Linked DNA regions of Homo sapiens: all the other regions are linked to region 3. The links are contacts of gene promoters, found by promoter capture Hi-C in blood cells and fetal thymus (Javierre and others, 2016). All regions are on one chromosome and are shown on one strand. Each heading gives the region's core, a stretch centred on a gene start or on the middle of the fragment in contact. The rest is flanking DNA. Distances are from core to core; before and after follow the strand shown. Region 1 overlaps SAMD12 (sterile alpha motif domain containing 12). Region 2 overlaps SAMD12 (sterile alpha motif domain containing 12). Region 3 holds the start of EXT1 (exostosin glycosyltransferase 1). Region 4 overlaps SAMD12 (sterile alpha motif domain containing 12). Region 5 holds the start of SAMD12 (sterile alpha motif domain containing 12). Region 6 overlaps SAMD12 (sterile alpha motif domain containing 12).

Evidence for each region. Contacts are between HindIII fragments. The CHiCAGO score rates a contact against its expected background, and 5 or more counts as called.
Region 1: a contact is called between a fragment that was not itself captured here and the fragment with the promoter of EXT1 in region 3, in 3 of 17 cell types (M0 macrophages, endothelial precursors and M1 macrophages). The highest score is 6.2, in M0 macrophages.
Region 2: a fragment that was not itself captured here is called in contact with the fragment with the promoter of EXT1 in region 3 in 1 of 17 cell types (endothelial precursors); the score reaches 5.3 in endothelial precursors.
Region 4: a fragment that was not itself captured here is called in contact with the fragment with the promoter of EXT1 in region 3 in 1 of 17 cell types (endothelial precursors); the score reaches 7.9 in endothelial precursors.
Region 5: a contact is called between the fragment with the promoter of SAMD12 here and the fragment with the promoter of EXT1 in region 3, in 4 of 17 cell types (naive CD4 T cells, naive CD8 T cells, non-activated CD4 T cells and 1 more). The highest score is 8.6, in naive CD4 T cells.
Region 6: a fragment that was not itself captured here is called in contact with the fragment with the promoter of EXT1 in region 3 in 1 of 17 cell types (endothelial precursors); the score reaches 5.1 in endothelial precursors.

The regions. Positions count from the first base shown.
Region 1 is chr8:118,394,382-118,397,654 of GRCh38, forward strand. All of the region lies in intron 3 of SAMD12 (sterile alpha motif domain containing 12), which reads right to left. It overlaps LOC105375724 (a long non-coding RNA gene), which reads left to right. Exons shown (of 7, transcript XR_001746062.2): 5 at 390-611. Among named protein-coding and RNA genes, the nearest start is that of SAMD12-AS1, 220 kb to the right of the region's middle. The HindIII fragment of the contact is 4,339 bases long and covers 1-3,273 here.
Region 2 is chr8:118,375,983-118,379,378 of GRCh38, forward strand. It overlaps SAMD12 (sterile alpha motif domain containing 12), which reads right to left. Exons shown (of 4, transcript NM_207506.3): 4 at 2,002-3,396. The region is part of intron 4 of LOC105375724 (a long non-coding RNA gene); the gene reads left to right. Among named protein-coding and RNA genes, the nearest start is that of SAMD12-AS1, 240 kb to the right of the region's middle. The HindIII fragment of the contact is 467 bases long and covers 1,902-2,368 here.
Region 3 is chr8:118,110,499-118,113,760 of GRCh38, forward strand. EXT1 (exostosin glycosyltransferase 1) reads right to left here and starts at 1,328. Exons shown (of 11, transcript NM_000127.3): 1 at 1-1,328. The coding sequence starts at 548. RefSeq lists silencers at 1,181-1,270, 1,371-1,750. The HindIII fragment of the contact is 5,337 bases long and covers 1-2,121 here.
Region 4 is chr8:118,440,878-118,444,117 of GRCh38, forward strand. The region is part of intron 2 of SAMD12 (sterile alpha motif domain containing 12); the gene reads right to left. Among named protein-coding and RNA genes, the nearest start is that of SAMD12-AS1, 180 kb to the right of the region's middle. The HindIII fragment of the contact is 3,938 bases long and covers 1-3,240 here.
Region 5 is chr8:118,620,713-118,624,110 of GRCh38, forward strand. SAMD12 (sterile alpha motif domain containing 12) reads right to left here and starts at 1,251. Exons shown (of 4, transcript NM_207506.3): 1 at 1,092-1,251. The coding sequence starts at 1,104. SAMD12-AS1 (SAMD12 antisense RNA 1) reads left to right here and starts at 289. Exons shown (of 5, transcript NR_038210.1): 1 at 289-474; 2 at 823-943. RefSeq lists enhancers at 244-293, 324-533, 1,144-1,343 and a silencer at 1,444-1,593. The HindIII fragment of the contact is 1,953 bases long and covers 1,018-2,970 here.
Region 6 is chr8:118,511,158-118,514,192 of GRCh38, forward strand. The region is part of intron 2 of SAMD12 (sterile alpha motif domain containing 12); the gene reads right to left. Among named protein-coding and RNA genes, the nearest start is that of SAMD12-AS1, 110 kb to the right of the region's middle. The HindIII fragment of the contact is 2,166 bases long and covers 476-2,641 here.

The DNA.
Region 1 (3,273 bases), core at 700-3,199, 280 kb after region 3:
CAAGGTGGCAAGTGCTAGAGTAAAGATGTCTATTTCCCTCCTCAAATTACAAGCTCTTGAAAGTAAGGGTGTATCTTTTCATTTATGTATTGCCAAAATCCTGGACATTGCTTAATAAACTAGTGAAATAATATTTGGGCAGTGTCAAAATAAATGTTGTTGAGAGAAAACCACATTAGAGAATGTGGCAGAGCTTAAGAGTGACAGTCCCATATTGCGTTTTCATGTATATTTGAATTGACTGGGTTTACCATGTCTGTAGTGCCAATATCCTGACTTTGCCAAAAGACTTACAGGCCTGCAACAGTCACCTAGTAGACCCAGGCTAGTGATGGTGCCAATGACTGTGGAACTTGAGACATAGTTGGATGATGGCTTTATCCTCTCAGCTCTTTTATCCCAGAGATTATAGTGCTGGAGTTGGAAGAAGATGGGAGAAACATATGAGGAGAGAAGGAAGTCGAGCTCATACCATGATGAAGAAGATAACTCCTGAAGATTGGGAAGGGCACTGGCTGGCTCTCAAAGATGGACAAATGGCTTTACGACGCTTAAGGGGATGCTCTGTGGAGTCTGCTTGGGTGCAAATCACCACCATGACACACTACCCAGTAAGTTGCTTACCCTGCTTTAAGTCTCCGTTTTCCCATCTCATCAGTGGGTATGTTAACAGTATAGGAATATTTATGAAGATTAAATTAATTAATACAGAGAAAAGCACTTAGCACAGTTCCTGGCACATAATATAAATTAGCAATGGATGATAATGGGTTCAAAAGCTGAGGGCTAGCTACAGGTGAGTCAGCAATGTGACCCTTTATACCCTCAGGTGAAATGTATGGTACATCCATGCCAATTTATATTTACAAACACTCGCATGAATGCCAAAGCCTATGTACCACACTCCCTCATTCACTGCTCACTCACGACTTATGCTTGAAGGCCCAGGCCACTTAGATGTCCTTCTTTCCCTTTTCATAATTCTATTATTACAGAACGTGTATCTCAGATACGTAGAGTGATTCTCAAATTGAGCTGTCTCTTAAGACTCCAAGATGCCACTAAAAATTTCATGAATTATTTAGAAAGAAAGTAAAAGCAATGTTCACTTGGGTTTTCTTTAGCAAACACCCTGAGGCCAGTGTTCAGGGACCAAAATGTCATGTACAAGGTTCTCCAACCTCAAAGAGTTCAAGCCATTGTTTTAAGTAACACTTTGTTCGCTGTGGGTACCAATAAGTACATACTATAATCAATAAGACTCTTTCTATAATTTATCAGAATCATAAAAATAGACTCAGAAGCGGTGGCTCATGCCTGTAATCCTAGCACTTTGGGAGGCCGAGGTGGGTGGATCATGAGGTCTGGAGATTGAGACCATCCCGGCTAACACGGTGAAACCCCATCTCTACTAAAAATACAAAAAATTAGCCGGGCGTGGTGGCGGGCGCCTGTAGTCCCAGCTACTCGGGAGGCTGAGGCAGGAGAATGGGGTGAACCCAGGAGGCGGAGCTTGCAGTGAGTAAGATCGCAAGAGCAAGACTCCATCTCAAAAAAAAAAAAAATAGACCCAGAAAAAGTTAGAAAAAAAGAGAAAGTTGAAGAAAAAAGTGAGTTTTTTTGTATAATTTTCTCTTCTGATTTAGATTTGGTTATAAAATGCTTCAGTTCAGTGTCCATTCATTCTTCTTCCAGCAATAAGGTGTTCAATAACTTATATTTTAATTATGTATTGTTTCGTGTGAGTAAAGAGACCTGAACTTGGAGTAAAAAGCCTGGGTTTGCAGGTTGGTGTCTCCACATGCAAGCTCTGTGAGCTTGAGTAACTTATTTAATGCCACTGAGTCAGTTTCCTCATCTGTAAAATGATAATTATCATTTTAATCACTCTGAGTTTTCTATGTGAAAGTTAAATTAGGCAGTAAATTAGAAAGTGTCTGGTATAATACCTGACTCAATGCCTTCATTTCAAATTAAACATTACATAAAGGTGTACCTTGTGTAGGCTTCCATTGTTACACCTACTCGATTATAATATAATCATGAATATGTTCACATGCCTGTTCTTCCTTCTAAACTCTGGGCTCTCTATGAAGAAAGCATGGGTTGTATTTATCTCAGTAACTGCAGCACTCAGCAATTGGTAGATATTCATTAAAGTTTTCCTGAGTGAATAAATGGCTCTATGAGAAAGGGAGAATACTATCATCCTCATTTTAAAGTTAAGAAATGGGCCCAGAAAAGTGAAGAGATTTGTCCAAAGTCGTAAGACTAGTAATTGTCAGAGCAAAGACAAGAACCATGCTACTTCTACTTAGGAAGGCTGCGCCTGTTTAGTTCAGCATTCATTTAATAAACCATTAATGACTTATCATGTGCCAGTTGATAACCGAGGTGATTTTTAAAGTACAGAAACCAGTTCGGAACCTAGAGCTTCTGTTGAGCCCATAGTTTATGGTGGTTTCTACTAGAGAGGTGGTAACAGGAAGATACTCAGAGAGGGGAAATTTTGCATGCAGAATCTAAAGGACTTGGTGAGAAATGAGGTATCTGAAGCAAGACAGAAGTTGCCAAGGGTGAGACACATGTTTCTGGCTTGGGCAATAAAAGAAAGTGCAACTGCTACCATGGGGAAGATTGAGTGAGCAAGGACGAGGAAAAAGAACAATACTTGTGGTTTGGACATGTAATAAATCCAAACTGCCCACATCTATGAGATATTCAATAGAAATACAAAGTGGGCATGTTGCTATACAGGCTGGAGCTCCAAGGAGAAGTCTGGTTTGAGGTTTTAGCTTGGGAGCCACCATCATTAGAACTGACATACAAACCCACAGGCAAGAAGAAAGCAAGTGTGATCACAGGTCTTAGGACTGACATCCCTCGAGGAACTGAGGTCCTGAGTGGGTAGATCAGTGAGATGAACCAACAAGGACACTCCCAAGGGGCGACAAGAGACATGGAAAAAAATCTGGGAGAATGAGATCCCAGAGAAGTATGGTTCAGGAAAAAGCAACTGGTTGTCTGTTGAGTGCTGATAAATCTGGCAAGGTGGAGTCACTAGAACACACCTTGCAATATAAGGTCCTTGAAGCACAGAAACCCCAAGTCTACAGATTGTGGAACAGTGAAGAGTCTAGCGTGTCTAGGTCACTCGATAACTGAGTTTTTCTCCTAGGGTAGATATCTTTTGTTTGACCCCACATAGGTAAAGAAATTACATTGAAATTGAACCATAAACCTTTCACATCATCAGTATTATAATAAAAACAT
Region 2 (3,396 bases), core at 885-3,384, 270 kb after region 3:
ATCCCAGAGATCCTACCATATTAGTATTCTTCATTCTCGTATTTGTAGCTAAGAGTACACCAATGCCTGGGTGTACCATTATTTAATTCACTATTCCCCTCAAGATGGACAGTTAAGTTGTTTCCAAGAAACTATATTTTGAAATTGCCTCCAAAGGCAAGAAGAAAACTCCTAAGAAACGCAATCATTTTTAAAATAAATTCCTTTCCTCAAAAATGGACTTTGAAAGTGATAACTCTTCTTAAAATGCGTTGGTTAGTAAATATTTGTTAAATATTAATGCAATTGTCTAAATGTTATGTCTCCTCAAAATTTATGTATTGAAATCCTAACCCCCAAGGTGATGGTATTGGACGGTGGGGCCCTTGCTTGGTGATCAGGTCACGGGGGTGCAGCCCTCATGTATGGGATTGGTGCTCTTGTAAAAGCAGCCCCACAGATATCCCACCCCATGTGACATTACAATGATTAGAAGGTCATCTGTGAGGAAGTGGGCCCTCATCAGACACTGAATCTGCTGGCGCCCTGATCTTGGACTTCTCAGCCTCCAGAATTGTAAGAGAGAAATTTTTGTTGTTTATAAGCTACCTAGATTATGGCATTTTGTTACCGCAGCCTGAACATGTTAGATAATCATCAACAACAAACAATTAAATGCATTACACCAGAGTGACAGCCCCACGTGAGCCATGGAAGGATACTCCATCTCTATGGATAAGAACTGTGATTCACCCTCTTTAAGAGGGAAGCCCAAGGATTTCCAAAAACATTCCAAAGTCTTTGTTTGTACTTATTCAGCATATTGTTTCTGCTGAGTAATATTTACAGAGATGAAGAATCAAATATTCATTACTGAAACATCTGTTACCCCTATGGTGAATTTCTATATGATATATATTTTAAACTAATAAGTTCACCTGAGTGGAATGAAATTCTAATATTTTTATTATAGCAAACCTAGACCCAAAATATTTTAACGCTAATCTGTCTTTACAACTTCTACTATTAATCATAAAACATAAAAACAACTTATCAATTTTGTTTCCTTTTTTTTTTAAAAAAGAAACTATTACTTCAATAAGGCTATGTATTTTCTGAAGGATGCCTGACATAACATGAGTTTGAGCATTAACATGTGAAGAACCGGCTCACGCCTGTAATCCCAGCACTTTGGGAGGCCAAGGTGAGCAGATCACTTGAGTCCAGGATTTCGAGACCAACCCGGCCAACATAGAAAAACCTCATCTCTACTAAAAATACAAAAAATTAGCCTGGTGTGGTGGTGCATGCCTGTAATCCCAGCTACTTGGGAGGCTGAGACAGGAGAATCACTTCAATCTCGGAGGTGGAGGTTGCAGTGAGCCAAGATTGCGCCACTGCACTCCAGCTGGGGCAACAGAGTGAGACTCTGTCTTGAAAAAACCAAAACCAAAACCAAAAACCTATGTAAAGAACAAGCAATAAAAAAGGTAATATCAGCACAGACAAAATACCCAAGAGCTAGAGAACAATGCGGCCTTCCAAAGGGAACTGAATGAAAGAATTAAAAATGTACAGCTTTTCAAAGCTCAAGAAAGTGACAACAACAACTGAATTCAAAGGACTGAACTGGGCATTATCTTCCCAGAACACGTATGTATATTTAGCTTAATAGACCTGAGTACTATCTTAGGAAAAATCTTATATATTATGCATCTAGGGCAATGAGAGCTGTAGAAAATGATTCTCCAAAGCAAACACACTGCAGGCTGACATTAGTAGAGGAAAAGAGTCAAAGGCACACATAATGCGTCACATGTGAGTTTAGGTCTCATTCTATATAGATCATCACCAGAGGGAAAAAGAATGAGCTGCAAAAACCAGACACTAAACAGAAGCTGGGCAGCTATGCTTGTGGTTGAAGCTTAAAAAAATGCATATGTGTATTTTCTGATTATAATTGTAATATGAATTTGCAGAAGATTTGGAAAATACAGAAAAATAAGAATTTAAGTCACCCACTTATCCCACAATCCAGAGAGATCCTTTATTAAAATGGTTGGCATATTTACTTGCAGTCCTTTTTTTCTGTACATATAAGAATATATGGTTTTTACAAAATTGGGCTTATATTATGCATACAATTTTACACATGACCTTTCCTCCCACCTTGTATGACTTACGTAATTTCCCATGTTGTCATGTATTCTTTAAAGATGTAATTTTAATAACTGGGCATTATACTGAATCTTATGAATTTAAGCAGAATTACTTGATTCTTTTCACATTGCTGGACCTCTAGGTTGCTTGTAAATTTTCCGTTTTCCAAATAGCACTGTGACAGACTTTCTTATCATAATCTTCGTATTTCTATCTACTTCTTAAAAGAAGCTTAAAAGCCTATCAGTATTTCACATTCAAATTTAAATCACTTAGTATACCAGTAAATTCACCATTGGAAATCTCTGAGGACAAAATGCAAATAATGCATATGAGACAAACAATACTATTTTACGATCACTTGAAATCTATATTTATCCTTCTAGAATAGTCATCTTTCAGGGAGCACATTATTTCCTCTAGGCAAATGGACTATTACTAGGTTAATCTAAATGCAATAACATGAAACTTGGCTGACCCAGATTTCTCCAATATCGGTATGCATGCAATTACAATATTCTGCAGAATGACAAATACTCAAGGCTCTCAAAAACACATATTTTATCATCCTTTCATTTAAAACGATGTACAATGGACGCTAAAATAAAACAAATAAAGTTTATAGCCAATGAAGGTTGATAGCATCCAAATCTCATGTAGACATATCAGTTACATATAGTGTAACTTAAGGCTTTCTTCGAATTCTAGCTTTATTTTGTCACTTCCACAGTTATTGAGATCTTAAGTGCTCTCATCATATTGAAGTTATTTATAATTCCTGTTAAGAATTATATACTCTTAACAGTGTAGTTTTAGATTCACTATAGTCTATTATAAAAATTATTCCACTTTCAAGAAGCTAAATGGGGTTCTTACAATCTCTAAAGTGTGTGTGTATAATACATTCATGTATAGTAATACATATCTAAAATGTTTTTCTCCCACTAACCGGTGAAAAGCAAAACAAAAATACAACAAAAACTCCACTTATATCACTGGTCATCGTAACTATTGAATCACTCAAATGCTAAAGCGCCCTCACAATTGGCGCAGGTGAAGATAGCTACAGCTGGACTGTACAGTTGTGCAGGCTGCACATTATACAACTCTAGTGAGTGCAATCGTACCCTGATTGATGTGACTGGTATTCTCTGGGGTTGTGCAGTACACAATCCATACAACTGTACGTGACCACCTTGAAGTTAGCTCAGGTAATTCTGTTTGCTCATCCATTACTTATTTGTGCATCCTTCTCCC
Region 3 (3,262 bases), core at 78-2,577:
AAGTGGAGACTCTGCACTTTGGATCTCAAATTGTGCACATACTGAGGTGACAACTGGTCTCTGTCTAAAGTATCCAGACTCAGGACAAAGAGGCACGCCTGGCTGGGGTCCGAGGTGTAGAACCTGGAGCCCTCGATGGCCGCTAGAATGTTTTGGTAACTTTCGGCGATTTTCTCCCCTTTTTGCTGTGGGTATACGTAGACTTTGAAGCCGTTTTTCTTGCAAAGGGTGAAATCGAAGCAGGACTCCATGCGGCACTTCTTGCCTTTGTAGATGCTGGAGTTGGCATCTCGCTTCTGCCGGGGGGAAATGTGCACGCTGGAATCCTCGTTTTCCAATTGATCCCAAGGAACGAAGGGGCGCAGAGCGTCCGGGAAGCGGGGCCAGAAATGATCCGGACTGGGGTGGTGCAAGCCATTCCTACCGCTGTGTTCTTCTCTCCGGCTGTGGCTCCTCGATGCCCTAAACTGCAAGCCTCCGAAATAAAACAAAAGGGCGAGACAAGAGCCAGCTGAGAGCAGGATGAAATAGCGTTTTTTGGCCTGCATGTGTCCTGCCTGGGTCAAGAGGATTGTAAATAAACACAAGAATCACCCAAGTTTCCCAATCAACACTTTCAGCTCCAGTCCGCCATCTTCCCGCCTGTAAAGACTTCAAACTCTCCGCTCCCACCTTCTCTGGATGCCTTTCCCCAAGCCGTGGACTGATCCAGCGCATGTGGGCGATTTCTTTAACTTTCTCCCCTTCGGTCTTTCATCTTTGGGTTGCACAATGCACGGGAGAGAGCGGGGCTGAATATCTCGCACCCAGGGCGGGCGAGCAGCGGACTGTAATTTTCTTGCATGCAACAAGACGGAGGAAAAGAAAGAGAGAGGGGAGAAAAAAAAAGCTCCCGATACCCAATCAATGGCAAGACGAAGTGATTGCCTTGCCTCTCGGATTCCTCTCGGCAGCGTGGAAAATGAGCCCCGGGAAGGCAACTTCAACTCATCCACCACTCTCCGTGCAGAGCACTCCGGTTCCAACAAGTCAGCCGATCCCGGGTTCAGCCGGCTAGTGCATCTTGCAGCTGGGGCGCCGTAACCTCACAAATCCCTGCATCTCTCTTTATTCCCTTCTGCAGCGGCTCCAAGACTCCGGCGGTGTTTACTCCTGCGCTCGCGGGGCCGGCCCCCGGGACGCGCGGCGGCCCGGCTGGAGGCGGCGGCGGCGGCGGCGCTGGGTGGCGGCGGCGGCGCGTCCTCCCCGCGGGCAGTGCCGGCCCCGAGCAGCGCTTCGCAGGCCCCCGCGCGAACGCTGCCGACCGCCGCGTTCGGTCGCCGAATGTTACCCGGTTCTGAATGTTACACTTACACATTCCATTCCCGACACGACAGCGCTGACCTCATCCATCCACGCAGCCCGCGCTGCCATTGGCCGAGCGTCACGTCCGGGGGGGGCGGTGCTTCCGCTGCGCCCATTCATAACCCCCGGCCGCGGGCCGAGGCGCCGGCGCGGCGTTGGGGGCGTAGGGGGCGCAGGGAGCCGGGGCTCCCGGGTTGCAAGCTGCCGGCGGGCTGCCGGGCAGGTGGAGCGCGGGACGGCCCGGTGCGAGCCCCGCGGCCCCTCGGCGCGCCCAGGCCCGGATCTCGGCCTGCGCCGTGCCGGGGACCAGAGGCGCCTGCGGAAACGCGGCGGCCGGGGAAGGAGGCACCGGCAGGGGCCCCGTGCCGCGCGGCCCCGGGCGCCCTGGAGAATCTGGCCTCCTGGGCTGCCTGCCGGAACGCCTAGAGAAAGATGCTTTGAAGGAGGGAAGCAGGGAGGAAAGGAAGACTTCATAGAAAGCGACCGCCGATCCGAAAGCTGCCTCTCCCAGCCCTCCTTCCACTCTCCGAGACCCAGTATTTCAATTTTCTGCTAAGCATTAAAACAATCTCCCCTTACTCCTCCTCTACATAGCACATTTTTTTAAACCAAAGAAACACCCCAATGCCCAACAATAAAGAGGAATTATTACAATCAAGAGGAATTGTTGCAATTCTTCATGCCTGCCTCTGTGCTAAGAGTGTAAGACGGCTATCCTAAATCCTCATTATCTACTTAGGCCGCCTTGCCTGAGCCCCCTCTGTCTATTATGAAGAAAGCTTCCAAGAGATCCAATCACAGAGAAAAAATAAATTTTCTAATGGCTGCAGGGAAACCAGTTAATTTAAGCTTGCCCCAGTCCTCAAAGTGATGTTATTCTCTTGGTGGTGGTGGTGGTGGTGGTGGTGTTAAAGATATCTCTTAAGGACATATGACTGGTAGAATTGCCAACTGTCCCAGCTATAGAAGGAACACTTGCATCAGGAAAACTACCTTATGTACAATTAGTGCCAAATAGTTGGTCCTTCCCTCACTGACCTCCCACTCCTTGGCCCAAGCTCCTGCCACTCCCAGTGGAAGAACTTCATTAGATAACTCAGGTAACCGAGGAGCAGTCCCGCTAAAGATCCTCCAGGTCCACAAAGATGTGCTAGGCTCCCAAACAGTATCTCTGGTCAAAGTCAAACTCCCTGGCCTCAGATCCTGAACACTGCTTTACAGAAAACACCTCCCACCCTCTGGCCTAGCTAAAGTCTCAGGGCTCGGGCAAGCTAGACAGTTGCCTAGGGCAGCCGGCTGTTTAGTGATTGTTTATTATGGGAGTGACTGAGAGCTAGGAGCAGACACTTCCCGGCTTCCCTCAGGCTGCAAAAACCCCAGCGGGGTGTGGATGAAGGGCAGGGTTATAACAAGGCAGTATGAAATGATAGAGTGGAAAGTTTCAGACCTCTGTTGTTTCAGATTTGTTTTAATAAAGCAGGGAAGGGGCATGGGTGGGACATTACTATACATTCGTGAAGCCTCTCCCTATTTCTGACCTGCCAAAGATGAGACAGCTTTTCCAGATTTGACTTGAACCCCCTGCACAATGTAGAGAGGCCTGGGACAGGAATAAGGATTCAGTCATCTTCCAAATACAGTGACAATGATGCAGATAAAGGCAGTGATTGAAACCACATGTGACCCAAAGCTCCCCCCAGCCCAAGTTGCTAAGAACAACAGTTCAAGGCAGGAGGCCTTCTCTTCTGATCAGGGTGCAGATTATCTCAGCCCTGTGAAGTGGGGCTGTGGGACTGGAGGTGCTCTCTCTCTCTCTCTCTCTCTCTCTCTCTCTCTCTCTCTCTCTCTCTCTCTATATATATATATATATATATATATATATATATGCTGGAGTGCAGTGGCAGGATCTCGGCTCACT
Region 4 (3,240 bases), core at 583-3,082, 330 kb after region 3:
TCACTATCTAGAATTTTTATCATGTTGGATCAGTGTTTGCCAAAAAAAGTAAGGCTATCATATTGGCAGCTGTTTGAAGGCTCCTGGGTGGTACAAGGACGTGGCCATTATTATCCCTGCTCTTCTCCATACGCATAATTTCCTTCCACTTCTCTATCAAATCTTTCAGATTAAGGCAAAAGGAGAGCCTTCATTTGGTAGGAGTGTGATTGTAACACCTGCTGACATGTGTGTTGTTGTTGTTGTTGTTTCCTTGACAAAGAAAGGGCTTGCTTCAGTCTCAGAATCTTAAAAAAAGGTAGTATATCTAGCATCTAATAACTTTTAAAAACTTTTTAGTGTATTTAAAGTTACCCTTTATTTTATGGCAAATAATTATGGCAAAATAAATTTTATTTTCTGTGGCAATATCTTCTTTGTTTTTTAAACAAATTTGAGTTTAAAGACACAACTATCCCTTGGGCCAATTTTTAATAAAAAAATAAAGAAACAATGGTGCAGATGGTGAGAGAGTCATAGTGAAAACAGTGGAAGTAATACGGAAGCGATTCAAGGTTGGAAAGCACAATGCTCAGGTGTTTTTTTTTTATTCGTATATTTCCAGTCATATGAGTCCTTGGGCCATTGCTTTCAAAATAATCACAATGCTGATCACTTTTTATTTTGTACTGTGATATTTTTCTTTTATTAATTGTGGTAGATGGTGTTTTCCAAAGATGATTTTATATATGTCCATATATTCATATATGTATGTTTTCATATAGACATATATACATACATATGTATCTGCTTTTCATTCAATGGGACTGACATTTCTTCCACTAATATGTGGGGTTGATGCTCCCTCCTACTCCATTTCAGCAGGGTTATGTGACCTTCCTGACCAATGTAGTACAGTGGAATTAATGCTATGTGACTTCTGAGGTTAGGTCATAAAAAAGAAACAGCTTCTGCCTGATTCACTCTCTGGCACTGACCTTTGGAAACCAACCACCATGTTGTGAGGAAGCCCAGGTCACATGGAGAGACCATGTGTAGGAATTTTGGTCAATTTGCCAGCTAAGGTCTCAGTTGACAGTCATCACCAACCACCAGACAAATGAATGAACAAGCCTCAGATGATTCCAGCCACCAGCCTTCAAATCTTCCAGCCAAGGCCCCCAGATACCACAATAGAGAGTCAAGCCATCTTTGCAGTGCCCTGAGTGAATCCTTGACCCACATAATCCATGAGCATCATAAACAGTTGTCTAATACCACTAAGTTTTAGGGTAAATTGTTTTGCAATCCTAGTAAGTGGAATACATGGTGAAGATGGGAGGGTGAGATCTGTTATAATTTTGTGTTCCCCAGAGTGTCTTGTTTTCAGTAGATCCCGTGTACATCCACAAGGATTAAGTGAATGAATTAATGAAATGAAACAGCATTCACAGACATAGCTTGCTATTTAATCAGCAGTGACTTTCACGTTCAGCCCTTGCTTCTCTACCCTGCTGTGTGTTATGCCTACATGGCTCCTAATCAAACATGCCTGCAGCCCTTCATACTGGGGTAATGGGCTGCAGCCATTTTCCCTCTAACATCTGTGGGAAACCATATTGACTTTGCCTAATTTTGATGAGAGAGGAAGACGTTGGGCATGGAGGGTATAAATGAATAAATGTTTTTATTGTTGATGATGTTTAGGTTTCTTTTTCTCTTTGCTCATCATCACCTCCTTTCCTTTGCACAACTAGGAAGCTAGAATTTTAGATCTTTTAGCTAGAAATCACTTACCACCATGTTTCACAAGTCAGCACCTCTGAATCTAGTTCTTTCCTGCTCTACAAATGTTCCTTCGGATTAGCTGAATGAGTTTATAGCTGACACATCATTACCCTGAAACTCTTGCAAGTAAAGCTAATCACATCTTTTGAAAACTCCTGTAAACCAGTCACAGAGGCGTAAATTAGGAAGGGAAAGGCAGAAAGATAAAGTTGCTTATACATCAATATATTAAACTTTTTCCTTCTTGGAAGAACATTCTTTAACTTGCTCATATCCTGGGAAAGGGAGGACGCTCAGCCTCAGCTGGGCTTCAGGTGGAGATTTACCCAAACACACTAAGTTGACTCAGAATGCATCCTCACCAGCCCACCATGTATGCTTTTGTTCTAAGTTTTCCTTTTATCATAAATTCAGAGATTCTGAGGTTAACACTCAAGGAGTTGCTTTGCTTTATTCTTCAGCATATACTCTTACTAGGCATATACTAGTAAGAGCATATACTCAAAACTTTAGGCATAGATTTTTAAGACTGTATGAGGCTGGGCACAGTAGCTCATGCCTGTAATCTCAGCACTTTGGGAGGCTGAGGCAGGCAGATCACCTGAGGTCAGGAGTTCAAGACCAGCCTGGCCAACATGGTGAAACCCCATCTCTACTAAAAATACAAAAATTAGCTGGGCATGGTGGCATGCACCTGTAATCCCAGCTACGCGGGAGACAGGAGGATCGCTTGAACCTGGGAGGTGGAGATTGCCTTGAGCAGAGATCGTGCCATTGTACACCAGCCTGGGTGACAGAGCAACACTGTCTCAAAAAATAAAAAACACTGTCTCAAAAAAAAAAATTAAGATGGTATGAGCCTACAAAAATGCCTCCATGTAAACAGACATAATAAGTAAAATGAGGGTAATAAAGATTCCTACTGTTTGTCTCTTCTTAATCAGATGGTAATAAAAGTATTGATACCATTTATCAGGTGATTCTCAGCCTTGGCATTTTAATGAAATTACTATTAGTTTGCCACACTTTAAGAGCTGTAATGACTCCAGTTACCCCAGTCTGCTGCTTCTTTTGGGATTCTCAGAGCTGACTTTGATTTGTTCTGCCTGAACTTCTCTTTTTGTAGCATCCAGGGTCAATCTCAGTTACTCCCCCTTCCATCAACATTTCCTCCATCCCCAACAGCTACCAAATGTTGGGAGTGAATGGCATAACCTGATTCCTTTAAAGAGCTTACACTTCACTTCCACGTACAATTAGAACAACAAGAAGTACATGTTAAACCTTATCACTTGAATTCAACATATTTTCCCACTGAAGGCAGGAAAAGAGAGGCAGAGCTGTCAATGCCTTCGACCGCCTCGTCTCCTTTCCTCAACATCCAACACCTACACTCTCTTCACAGCCATCCCTAGAGGATGACTTTCTCTGATATGCTGCTGGGTTTTTTCTTCCCGCAGTAGGGGCCTAAGC
Region 5 (3,398 bases), core at 1-2,500, 510 kb after region 3:
GCAGCAAGCCAGCCTCGTGGCCTTCTCGTCTCTAGCCTACAAGGAATAGGCTGATTTCCCCTTGGCAAGGCGCCTGAAGCAGCTGGCAGGCAAGCCCTCCTCTTCCTACTTCAGTACGCCCTCTGACCTGACTGCACTCAGAAACCAAAATTCTGCAGGTGAATGTAGGCTCCCATTTCGTCCCACAATCATTTCATCATTCAGGCACAGCTTGACCTCTAATGTGACATCACAAACCCTTCCGGTCCACAGTTTTTTTTTCTTCTTCAGAAACTACCTAAACAAGGAAGTTTGTGTTCCAAGGTAAGATAACCTGAAATGAAAAACTCAGGATCCCTCACGAACAGCCTGACCCTGCTTTCAACCAGGAAGTTCAAGGGAGGCAGGACTTTACGGTCAAAACTGCAAAGCCGAAGCTCAAGACTGTAAGAAGAAAGTGATCTTCAAAGAAAAGGATTCACCCAAATCGAAGAGGTTGTTGCACTTCTTTTCCCTGGCTGATTACATTTCATGTCTGTAAACTTTGCTAAGCCCGGGGCGCTGGCTGTATAAGCAGAGACAGGTGTAGGGACACCTCTACCCTCTGGGTACATCTGCGGCCGCCGCTGCTGGGTGCATAGGACGAAGGGCCCTCGACCCAATCCCAGTCCAAGCTTCCGGATGACGCACCTGGGCTGGGGACCTCTCCCACGTGAGGGGGGCCAACCAAGCATCCCCAGCCCCGGGGCCACCCAGCCTGCTCCGGAGGGAGGGGGCAGGGAAAAAGGGCATCTCGGGGCCAAAACCTCATGCCGGATCCTCCGGCTTTCCCCCCATTTCCAGGATATCGTTTCGCATCAGGGACACTCGTCTCCACACCTCCTACCTCAAAGTCCTACGCACCTACCCTTCACGTCTCTCCAAAGCAACTGAATTAAAGCGCCTACTGGCCTTGGCGGCGCAGGTGAGTGCCAAGAGGTGGAGGAGGAAGGGGCCCGCTCTCCGCCACCCCCTTTCCTCGCCTCCCCACGATCGCCAAGCTTCATCGGGGATGTGTGCCTTGGGGTGCGCGGGTTAAGAGGGAGCTTAAAAATGCCCCAAGCGTCCCTTACCTTCCACAGCCATTCTCTCAGAGCTTCCCTAACGCATGCATAATTTTCTTGGCCGAGGTACTCCTCCTGCCCCGCGCTCCCCCCTTCCTCTCGCTTTCGCCTAAATATTCTGCGCTTATCTGCTCCAGGACCAACCTGCCGCGGTCACGCAAAGCGAGGCAGCCGGCTCCCGGCTCGGCGCGCGCAGGGCGTCCTGGGAAGTGTAGTTCCCTCCCTTCGCTCGGACTGGGGAGAGCACCCCGACTCCTCCGCGGAGTGCCGCCTGGCCCCGACACTTGGAGAGCAACTCCAGCTTCAGCTGGCCAGGCCGAGCAATCTCTCCTGGGGAAGTTGTGAGGGGACCAGGGATGCCTGGTTGTGGCGGGGCGGGGGGGGAGGGGGGGGGGGTTCCCGGGAAGCGGTCTGGACTACATCTCCCAGGAGGCCGTGCGCTGAGATAGGTTCGCTGCTAAGAGTAGGGACCCGTGATTGAGCCCTTCCCTGTCCATTACAAGGGGTTTGGCACCTAGCAGGTGTGGTGAGGTGGGCAGGTGACGGTCAGCTGTGTGATGAGCTCCTGCGAGCTCGTCCGTGGGCCTCTGCCGCCGGTACCGCCCCGCCCCCTGGCCTCCTGAACCACCATTTAGTAGGGAGAGCAGGACCACTGTCCTCCTGTGTGGTTCTCCACCTGGGCCAGAGAACGCTGCCCAGGGTGAGGTTGAAACTTGTTCCTTCGCACCCTGAGATGTATGGGTTTTGTGGGGGAATTCCGACGGTTGATACAGTTGTCTTATCCTACAGGGTGGTTCAGGTGGCTAAATACTTGGCATGGGGGTGTAGGGGAGGAGGAGTGGCTTAAACCCCAATAGGCAACGTCCCCAAGGGGTTGTTAGGAACAAAGTCTGGGAGCCAGGATTGCACCGGAGGAGGTCAGATGAAAGCCTGTCTGGCTTCCAGGATAGGAGGCTTTCAATTTGCCTAGACTTGGAGCCTGTTGACAGCCTGTGATAGGGCCTAATAATTAACAGTGCCTGAGAATCAGGTTCCTTCAACTTCTGAACCTATGTCCTAGCTGTAGGTGCTGGGGATGCTATAAGCAGACATGATAATGGGAATCACGTGGATAGCAATACAATTCGACAGCTCGTAAAAATTAAGTTTCTAAACATTTTTTCCTGCGTGTGAAAATACGGATACAGTTGTGGCTGGAAGGGGTAAGGGAATAGCCTCGGGAATAAATCTGGCTCAAGACTGGATTGACTTTTAAAGGCCTTCAGTTTACAAATGTATTTGGTACCACATCCACCCAGTCACTCATATATAATGTTAATCTCTGTAAAATGAGGAAGTACAAAAATCGGATTCTTCCCATGATGACTACTTAGACATTTTTGTGTGTCTTGGTCATCAGCAAAAAAAAAAAAATGTTTTTCAAAACAATTTCGTTTCTCAGTGTATACATGCACACCTGTTGTTCTGGTCACTAATTACATGCTTAGTTCCCCTACTGGGTAATATATAATAATAATATGTGTATAGGTACTTTAAAAAATACCTGCGTGTAACCATTAAATGCTCTTGTTGATACTTTAATTCTGAGTCCATGGAGCTGTGTACAAGTCAAACCTAAGCCTCTCTTTTAGGTACAGTAGAGAGAGACCCATTCAGTGAGACATAATTTCCATGGGAAAAAGAATTTTCCGACCTAATACACAGCCAAGCATTCTAAACTCTGGAAAGAACTGAAATCCAGGTGCTTCACTACTTTATGTATATAAAATCACCAAAGTGTTAAGTATTTTCTGAGATTGAATGAATGTGAAAGAAAGCCATAGGACAGGTAGTATCAATGGTTCTCAACCTTGGCTGTGCATCAGCCTTCTACAAATATATATTCCTAAGCTTTTATCTTAGTCTCACAGAATCAGAGCTTATGGGGGTTTGGGTAGAGGCACTCAGGTTTTAAAAACCCACAGGTGATTCCAGTCTTCATTGAGGGTGAAAACCATTGGTCTGGTTCCAAGCTTTTAAATATCTGGGTGATATAAAAATATAAAAGTCATTGAAATCTGTGGTTAATTTTAAAACTTCATCTTAGCTCATCTTTAATATTTTTCCCAGTGATGTGCATTCTAGACGAGTTTTATTTTTAGTATAAATAAAATGTGAAGGAGATGTTAGTTTCTACCATATGAAATAGCCAATGTTTGACCATTTTTAAAACCTACAAATAGAACAATTTCATGTGGTTCTGCCTAATAAGGGATAAACAATAGTTGCGCAGAGGTTTTCAATTCTGGCTGAACATTAGAATCACCTGGGAAGTAC
Region 6 (3,035 bases), core at 309-2,808, 400 kb after region 3:
AGAATAAATAAATAAATACAACCTTAAAGCTGCAGAGATTAATTTAATTTGGTTACTTCCCTGGAAATCACTCAGAATGATGGGAATGGGAAGGGGAAGAAAGATCGATTCTTATTTAGAGGAACTCACAGCAATTGAAATTGAAATGTTCATATGAAGGCGAAAACCATTAAAAACTGTAGGTGATTTGACAAATCCACTTTTTTCACGGTTTATGGTATTATTTTAGGCAACATATTATGCCTTGTCTAGCAGGTCAATTGACAAATTTGGAAACCTCTTGTTTTTGTTTTTGTTTTTTTTTTAAATGTACGTGAATAGATGTTTTGTAGATTGGAAAATCTGGGTAGATTTGATAATGCAAACCTCAGAACTAACTTTGCTGAACCTCTGCTGTCAGTTACAATGGTGGGGCCCTAGCAACTCTACAGTTCTGGCTGAAGAGGAATTTTCCTACATTCAAGCTTCTATAGCAAGCTTTAAAGTAAAGGGGGTAAAAGACCATTAAAAATATTTCTCAACACTACGCAACACAAAATCTACAGTGGAATAAAGGTTTGCATGGGGCTTCACAATGGCATATAGATCATTTAGTGGAAAATTCAACAGACACAATGTGATTGTAGTTAAATCATTTCCCATTGTGATGACATTAAAGGTGCCCATTTATTTTGTAAAACACAAGAGGGACATATACAAATCTGCACTGAACAAAGAGCCAGCCTTTTGCAAACACTTGTTGCTACTTTTAGGATGAAAAGACAAATCAAACTTGCCCTTTCTGATTGTCAATGAAATCTGCACCTCCAACCCTAAATAAGTAAATCAATCAATCAATCAGTAGTTAGACTTTTCTAAGAAAGGAAACTGGAGCACTATAAAGAACATTTTTTTTTTCACCTTTCAACTCTGCATCCACTCCTCCTCATTTGGAAATAGGATCTATATTGTTTTTGGAGCACCTATCTAATACTCCCAGGCATGAATATTAATTGGGCCAGTGAATACAATCAGAATGTTTCCTTAACTTTGAAGACTTTGGCGGAACTTCCAGGAAAGAGACATTTTTCTATTGAATTTGTGGCTGGGGACTGCCATATGCAGAGATAGCACCAGAAAGTAAAGCAAAGAAAGACAAAACAGACCTAGGAGATGGGATTCATGACATGGAGTGAGTCCTGAATTCAGCCATGGCTGAGCTCTGTTGGCTTTTTCAGTTTTGTGAGCCAATAAATATCTATTTTATGATTGCATAAAATAGACTGAGTTACTTTTATGACACTTACAGTTGAACAAATTCTGAATAATTTGAACATATATCAGCTTGCATTAAAATAAGGTCATGCCAGATACTCAATAAATGATATTTTTATGAAACCACAACAAAGAAAAATAAAATCAGACTGTTGTTAGAAATACTGAGTTTTCCATTTTAGTCCTTAAATCCTTAGCATGGCATTCTGAGTTGTCCATTACTTAGTCCCACTCATTTTTGCAATAATATTACTAAAACACTGTCCCCTTATTTCTAAGATCAATTCATACTAATCTACTAGCCACACTCAAACATACCTTGCCCTTTTGTGCCTCTTTGACATTGCTCATGTCATTCTTTTGGCTTGAAATGTGACCTCTAACCCTTTTCTCCATTGTTCAGGCTATAGACTATTCTTCAAAGCCAAGTTTAAGTATCATTTTCTCTGTGACGCTTTTCCCAATCTTCCAGTCAGTTTTAATGATTCCTCTTCTGCAAAGCTCTTGCTTATATCAAGTAACGCATGTGAAAGATGTTTTGTGCACTACTGAGAGCCATACAAAGGTAAGTTACTTTTAGTATTACTGAATACTTATATTTTTTTTTTTTCTTACAGTTATGTCATATGTGTATCTTTTTCACTAAACTGGGAACAATTTGAGGGCAGGGATCATCTTTATTTTTCTCACAGCCTAGTAAATTGTCTTGGCAAAATAAATACTACATAGTTGATGCATTTCAGACATGCACTAGTCATTTGATTTTTCTCTTGCAAAACCAGAACCCATACAAATTAAATCACCAGCCCATCCCAAATGCAACTAGCCTAAAAGAGATTTGAGAAATTTTAGAAATAAAATATTTTAAAAACCCAATAAAGATGAATAGAGTTGAAAACATTTTAAAGGAAATGGTGTTTGAATACATTGATCAAGACATATTAAAAGTTAGAGGATGCAGGAAAAGCTGTGGGGATTGCAAAGGCCAACAGAGTACATCTTAAGCTGTAAACTTATAACTACCCTGTTAAAGAGGATGCTTCCCAAAACAGCCACCTACCCTCCCAAAGAAAAACCAACAATCAACAAACCATAAAATATGTACATCTTCCTATACACATTAAAGACCAAATCAAACACAGAGCAGTCTTTAAAGCTGACTCTTTCTGCTTTAAAAAGGAAATAATTTGGTTGTTCCAGAGAGAAAATAAGAAAATGCCCCTAAGGCAAGTATTTCAATCAAGTAGACAGTTGGGGTTGGGAGAATATGGGGAGGGGTGGATGTAGTGGTGACAGAGCCCCTTGGCAGAGTTCACAAACTCTATTGTCTACTGGGGACTAGACAGGTAATGCAAATGAGCAGAGAGGCCAAAAGGAGGGAAAACAAAGCTTGACTATCAACAGCAAATGACACTTGCCCTCAGTTTTGGGGGAAAATGGGCAGTAGTGGGAATCATTGCTAACCAAAAAGGAATAGTGTTCTACAGGGAGCCATCACTATTCCATCCCAGCCTATTATTTCTTTGTGGGAATTCAGGTCAAAAGTTTCTAGAAAACCTGATTTTCTAACAAACAGCTAAAATGCATATTTTAAGCGAAATTTTTATTATTAAATACTGGTATATAATTTGCATAAAACTTTTAAAGCATTGGGGAGGTCAGGCAAACACACCTATTGCCAAACTTCAAATTTGTAGCCTCTGCTGTATAAAGTACATGAGATCAGCAACCCTCCCCATCACAAGGCATTTAAAATGATTTTTTAAGTTTCCATACAACTC